Linked DNA regions of Homo sapiens: region 1 is linked to region 2. The links are contacts of gene promoters, found by promoter capture Hi-C in human tissues and cell types (Jung and others, 2019). All regions are on one chromosome and are shown on one strand. Each heading gives the region's core, a stretch centred on a gene start or on the middle of the fragment in contact. The rest is flanking DNA. Distances are from core to core; before and after follow the strand shown. Region 1 overlaps KDM3A (lysine demethylase 3A). Region 2 holds the start of REEP1 (receptor accessory protein 1).

Region 1 (3,564 bases), core at 210-2,709, 120 kb before region 2:
TTTCTCTTAATGTGAGAAGAACGGAGGAAAGGAGGAAGGAGAAGAAAGATTTTAATAACATATCTTACCACATGTCACAAGGTTATCGTGTACAACTTCAACATGAATCAGTGACGGATCAACAATTTTCAGTGCTGGAATCTTAAAAATAAATGAAACAAAGATACCGGAAAATAAAAAATGCTCAAGAACATACTGAAAATCAGGTTCATTAACATAACAATAGGAGCTTCTTATGAATAATTTCTTTTTAAAACAACTGTAATTATTTCTACCCTATAAAATAATAAAGGTATTTAGTGCCTAGAAAATCATAAATGCTTTGTATAGTTATCATGCTTTGTCGAGTTATCTTACAAAGAGTTATTGTTGTCTTTACCTCCTCACAGTTGACTTGAAGAGTTTTTGATGCTGGGTTTCCATTTATAACGGTTGCTGAAAACCACTGAGTAGATGGGTCCAAGCTATAAATTTTTACTTCTGAACCAACTAAGTTTTTGTCACCTTAAAAAAAAAAAAAAAAAAAAAATCTTAGAGCAATTTGCATTATCTCCCAATAGCAACATCATCCAGGACAATCTTTTCCTAAGTCTTTTTTAAAAAAACGCAAAAGTAAACATTAAAAGAATCACTACAAACATAAGATGACTGACATTTCAGAAAAGCTATGAGAAAATTTAAACTTTTTATTTTGTATCGGACCAAAGTAGTATTAGACAATTCATCAAGACCTCACTCACTGTCCTGTGTAGTTTTAGAGGAATCAAATTCAGGAACCCCAACAAAAATACTATGTCTGATAATCTAAAAAACACAGAAAAAAAATGTATGATTGTAGAAACTCAGTAACACAAATGGGAAGGTAAGGAGTATCAAATTAATGCCTTATCCATTTTATATGGCTGATATTCCAAACATATCAAATTCCACATCAAAATATAGCTGAGCTTTAAAAATATCTTTTTTCTTTTCTTTTTTTTTTTTTTTTTTTTGAGACAGGGTCTTGCTCTCACCCAGGCTGGAGTGTAGCAGTGTAATCAGGGATCACTGTAGCCTTGACCTCCTGGGTTCAAGTGATCCTCCTGCCTCAGCCTCCTGAGTAGCTGGGATTACAGGCATGTGCCACCACACCGGGCTAATTTTTTTAAAAATGTTTTGTAGAGATCGACGTCTCCCTGTGTTGCCCAAGCTGGTCTTGAACTCCTATCCTAGGCTCAAGCAATCCTCCCACTTTGGATGTCCCAAAGTGCTGGGATCACAGGCTTGAGCCACTGTGCCTGGCCCTACTTTACTGTTAGTTTCATATAATCCCTGAACTTTCCAAATTTCAGAGGTTTTAGCAACACACACATTTTTTGAATTTTAAATTTTAAATTTCTTAAAAATTTATTTTAGAAAAAAAGTAAGAAATGGCCCGGCGTGATGGCTCACACTTGGCAGGCAGATCACTTAAGGCCAGGAGTTTGACACCAGCCTGGCCAACATGGTGAAATAGTGAAATCTTGTCTCTACTAAAAATACAAAAACTAGCCGGGTGTGGTGGTGCGTGCCTGTAGTCCTAGCTACTTGTAAGGCAGAGGTTGCAGTGAGCCAAGACAGCACCACTGGCACTCCAGCCTAGGAACTAGACTGTCTCAAAAAAAAAAAAAAAGAAAAAAGAAATTTCCATGAGCAAATGAATGAGAGGCTAAACCCTAGTTTCTCACAAGCTAATCATTGGTCAACTCGTGAACTATCACCACTAGATAATGCATATACCTTTTAAAAGATGGCTTTCATCTAAATGCTTCACAATCAAAGCTTGAAATTCTTTACTGACAATCTGATTATCCGTAAGAGAAAGTCGAAGACTGTTTACATCCTGAAAAATGAAAGATCATTACATGTTAAGGGTAACAGTTAATAAGAAGAGTTATTTAAATTCCAGTGGGCTATTTCAATTGGTTAATCAAATGGGTTAAAGTAGTGTCAACAAACCATGTGATAGCCCAAATCATTCCAATTCCAGTAAACCAGATGGCTCAAAAAGTCCTAGACCATCAAATGATCACAGCTATAAGGCAGACTGAAGTAAAGTCATCCCAAGCTAGAAGCATGAGAAATATTAAGAGGAACTCAAAGCATAATTTTAAAAATGACTAACTTTGGCAATGGGAAAAAAGTAAGCAAACAAACAGCTGGTCAATCCAAGTAAAAAACACTCTGTATCCTAAATACTGGGGATGGGGAAATCACAATCCAAATCCAAGGGACAAAAAACACAGATATGACACACAAGAGACAGATGTATATGGTCGATTCATTGCAATTACTGTCTGGGTTTTTTTTTTATTTTATATAACACACTGCATGTACTATATAATACACTGTGTAACCTACTAGCAGGGGTAGATGACCATAACTGAGAGTTAGTTTATTCATCAATCAGAAAAATGTTTCCTTGATCAATGTTCTCCAAACCTTTTGACACATTGTAAAGATTAACTCCAGAGGTACACATATCTCTTTCCACCAAAGTCCACTGATAATGGGCAGCCCTTTTTTCCATATTCCCATTAGTAAACCCATGGCTGTGCCCAGTGGCCACCCTGGGGATGAGCAAGCATGCACCCATGATGGCAATTTTAGGGAAAATTTTGAACCACATCTCAGCCTGGTTACCTAGGCCAAAACCCTATTTTCTAAGGCCCCTTAAAGCTGACCAAGCTTCAGCTCCCTTCCTGGTAAGAAACTGCTGTTTTTAACAACTCATTTCACACAGATTCATTTAACCTAACTAGTATTACAAAATGCATTCTTTTTTACAAAAAGGGAGGTGGGGGGACAAACAGAAAATCTGAATGAATAGCCTAAGGCGTCAGAGTAAGCCAGTTCTGAAACATTCAATTCTTGGCAGCAGCTCCATTCTTGGCACTATTCCACAGTCTTCTGGCTTTGTGTGCACACCCAGTTATGATAAATGTAATACAGAAACTGTCAATAGGAATAACTTGCCAAACCGAATTCTAGCAGGGCAAAGAAAAAACAGTGCTCAACACAGAAGCCCTTCCAATATCAGGGCTTTATGCTTTTCTGCCACTGTGAAATGGATAATGACCAAGAATGGGTCATCCATTTTTCCCACTGGGAAGGATAACTAGTCTGTTAGAGAAGCTGTGCTGGAAAAATGTATTTCTTTTGCCAAGTAACATTAGACAAACCTAGGGACTCCATAAGAGATCAACATTAATTACCAGAATGGGTTAGTTTTTGTTTTTTTCTCATGCATGTATTGTTTATGCAATTTCAAAAAATTTAATTATATTCTCCAATTCCTACTACAAGATGAAAGTATGTATCAATGGAAAGAGCCGCAAAGGGCTTCAATAAAGTAGAAAAATATTAGGCTGCCTAGGAGAGTTTAGGGCTTAACGAAAGTGCAAGATAGTTGTCCAGATACCTTATCTTTTTCTTACCAACAGATAACTGAGTAAAATTCAATCTAAAGACGGACCCTAACTTTCAATCCCAATTTTTCCACATGCCAAATGATTTTCAGGTGCTCTGTGCATTATCTAGAGCAAG
Region 2 (3,314 bases), core at 52-2,551:
GTAGAGGACAAAGCGTTTCCAGTGTAACAGAATAATGTACTATCTGCGGCCGGGACTAGGGTGAGCAGAGTGAGGCGCTCAGTGAGGGTGCAACATTTAAGAGGTGCCATAAAATTCAGCAACTAAAATACATAATAGGTGGCTCACTCCTGTAATCCCAGCACTTTGGGAGGCCAAGGCGGGCGGATCACGAGGTCAGGAGTTTGAGACCAGCCTGGACAACATGGTGAAACCCCGTCTCTACTAAAAATACAAAAATTAGCTGGGCGTGGTGGCGCACTCCTGTAATCTCAGCTACTCATGAGGCTGAGGCAGAAGAATCGCTTGAACCCGGGAGGCGGAGCTTGCAGTGAGCCGAGATCGCGCCACTGCACCCCAGAGCGAGACTCTGTCTCATAAAAAAACAACAACAACAAAAAAAACCACCATAATATTTAATACGGTATTTTAAAAAATACATAAAAACGTTTATATAGGGTGCACAAGTTCCCTTTTGCCTAAGAGTTCAACGTGGCTCAGCGGGGCACTGGTGCTAAGCAGTCGCAGCTTCTAGTCTCCTCCTAGGGCCCGGAGCAGCCCCCAAGGAAAGGCCTTCCCTAGGAAGAAGTAGCCCTTCAGCCCAGCCTAGAAGAAGGAGCTGAATCAAACCAAGGCAGGACGATGAGGCGTGGCGTGTACTGACAGGGAAGAAGAAACAGCAAATATTTGAGTCCAAGATGCCTGGAGGGAAAAGAGCTAGAGGACTATTTGGGGGAATGGTCTTGGCAACACGGTTCTAGGCAGGTACCACGATCATATAGGGACTCTGTAGAATTTTAAGTAGGGAGGCAAGCGCCCAGGTTTGTTTCTTATGCAGAAAGTGCTGAGCAACGGACAGACTGAAGAGGTTAGGTCTGGATCCAGGTAAACCCTTTATGAGGCTAACGCACTAGCTGAATGAGGGATGACAGCATCCCACCTAGACAGGTGCAGACAGATTCCCGAGGTTCAGGTTCGGACTTCAGTTTCTCCGCTGGAACGCTGAGGGTGGGGCAGCACCCGGGTCCCTGCCCTGCAAACGGGGCCGCTGCAGGGTTCCTTTGGCGGGGCCGGTGCCCCGGGGAGCGCGCAGGACGCGCCCGCCTTCAGCCGGGGGCCAGGGCGAGCGGGACGGGGCGGGCCCGCGGGTGCCCTGACCAGCTCACCGCCCAATCGCTGCGGGCCCGCCGAGCCCCGGGGGGCTGGGGCCGCCGCCGCCGCCGCCAGAACGTGCCGCGGCTGCGCCAACGCGCGAACGCCGGGCAGGGCGGCGGGCGCGCTCAGTCTGGCGGCGGCTGCCGTGAGCTGACTGACGTTCCGGGAACGCCGCAGCAGCCCGCGCCGCCCGCAGCCTAGCCGAGCCGCGCCGCCCGGGCCTCGCCCGCCCGCCTGCCCGCCATGGTGTCATGGATCATCTCCAGGCTGGTGGTGTAAGTGGCCTTCTCCCCCGCGCCCCTCCGTCCCCTCCCTCCCCGCCCCCGGCCCCGGGCTGCGCGCGCCCCTACAGCGCCCGGTCCCAGTGGCTCGGGCTATTAATACCCGGCGCAGCTAAATTTAGCAGGTACAGTAGCCGCCGAGGACGCCTGCGGGCGGACGGGCGGCGCAGGACGCGGCTGCTGCCCAGGAGGCAGCCGGCGCCGGCGGCCGCTTGCGGGGGGCTGGGCCGGGACGGCGAGGGCTGGGGCGCTCGGGGGTTCCGTGGGGGCTGCGTCTCGCCGCGCGCTGGCCGCTTTGTTCCTCAGCTCGGTCGATTTGCAGAGGCCCCGAATGGGCGCACCGCGGACACGCGTCTCTCTCCTTTGGCAGAAATGTGAGGTCGCCCGGCGCCGCGCCCCGCCGCCCCAGCTTTTGTCAGGTGGAAAGGACAGCGCAGACGAACCAGGGGCGCTGCCTGGAGGGTCAGCGCGGAACGGGTGGAGAGGCAGAGGCGGGGCTCCCAGTGGGGTTGGAAAAATCCTCCTTTTTAGGTGTCTGCATCGACAGCGGCAAAGGCAGCTGGGACATGGGAAGACGCATGTGAATCTTGGAGTAAACGCCTGGAGCCCCCGGCTCCGACTCCTTTTGCAGGGGATTGAGAGACAGGGGCAGGTACCTCCAGGAATGCACGGGAAATTTTCAAGTGACAGCCACCCGCATGGTGGCGATGACACCTCCCAGGCCTTGCAGGAGAGCGCAGAGTCATCTAGGGTGAGGTCTGTGTGAAGTCATTGGGGGTGGGCGTGGGGGCCGATTTTCTCCTTCAAGCCCCAGGACCTGTAGGCGTTTGAAGAGCTTCCCCGGTGGATTTATTCTCCTTTGGAGATAGACGTGGCTGTTCCAAGTCCCTGTTCTTCCCTAACCATCCTGGCCTGAGTCAGAACAGATTTGCCACCTGCTGTAGCTAGCAGGGGCTGAAATGGGTGTGGGGAGTCTAAGGCGGGGAGGAGGGTGGCAGGCACCTCGGGCTTTTTCTTTGTCTGAGAACACGGGGCTCTGGACCCCAGTGATTGTGCACCATCACTCCCCACGTTTTGAAACACCACCCATCTCCCTTCCCTTCTTTACTGATTTTCCCTTCCGAAGTGGATCTCAGCATTGTCTCCCGCCACCATTCAGGGCTTTCCTCCCAAAGCCAGTGTCTGTGCCTCTCAGCCCCCAAGTCATTCCGTGAAGGCCTCTCCACAGCTGTTCCTGACTGCGGGGTGTTTGCGCTGCACCTTGAGGTGGCATGTTAAATATTTAGAAGATTTCTGCTGGCAGAGCCGACATGAATAATACAGGAAAGTGGCTGACACGCCTTGCCCAGCCTCATGCCTGACCAACACTGTCTTGCCTTCAGGGTGGTGTTTCCTCTCTGGGATCGATATTGCCAGTGGCTTCTGGGAAGCCCTCAGGGTGGGGCTGGAGAGTTGAGCTGGCCTGGCTGGTGGGCTCTCTGTAGGTCCTGCTGGGCTGGGAGTGAGGGCATCTGATCCTGGGTCATGTGACTATCATTAGTTTTATTAGCACTGGGTCATGTGACTATCATTAGTTTTATTAGCACCTCCCTCACCCCTGCCCTTTTTTTTTTTTTTTTTTTGAGACCGAGTCTCGCTCTGTCGCCCAGGCTGGAGAGTGCAGTGGCACAGTCTCGGCTCACTGAAGCCTCCGCCTCCTGGGTTCAAGCGATTCTCCTGCCTCAGCCTCCCGAGTAGCTGGGATTACAAGCGCCTGCCACCACGCCCAGCTAATTTTTGTATTTTTAGTAGAGACGGGGTTTCACCATGTTGGCCAGCCTGGTCTTGAACTCCTGACCTAGTGATCCGCCCGCTTCGGCC

The links. Contacts are between HindIII fragments. The study calls those that stand out against the background at their distance.
Region 1: a fragment that was not itself captured here is called in contact with the fragment with the promoter of REEP1 in region 2 in 2 of the 25 tissues and cell types used here (aorta and dorsolateral prefrontal cortex).

The regions. Positions count from the first base shown.
Region 1 is chr2:86,453,382-86,456,945 of GRCh38, reverse strand. It overlaps KDM3A (lysine demethylase 3A), which reads right to left. Exons shown (of 26, transcript NM_018433.6): 5 at 1,759-1,861; 6 at 380-504; 7 at 69-141. Among named protein-coding and RNA genes, the nearest start is that of KDM3A, 14 kb to the right of the region's middle. The HindIII fragment of the contact is 4,436 bases long and covers 1-3,564 here.
Region 2 is chr2:86,335,613-86,338,926 of GRCh38, reverse strand. It overlaps REEP1 (receptor accessory protein 1), which reads left to right and starts at 1,301. Exons shown (of 9, transcript NM_001371279.1): 1 at 1,301-1,448. The coding sequence starts at 1,417. The HindIII fragment of the contact is 14,274 bases long and covers 1-3,314 here.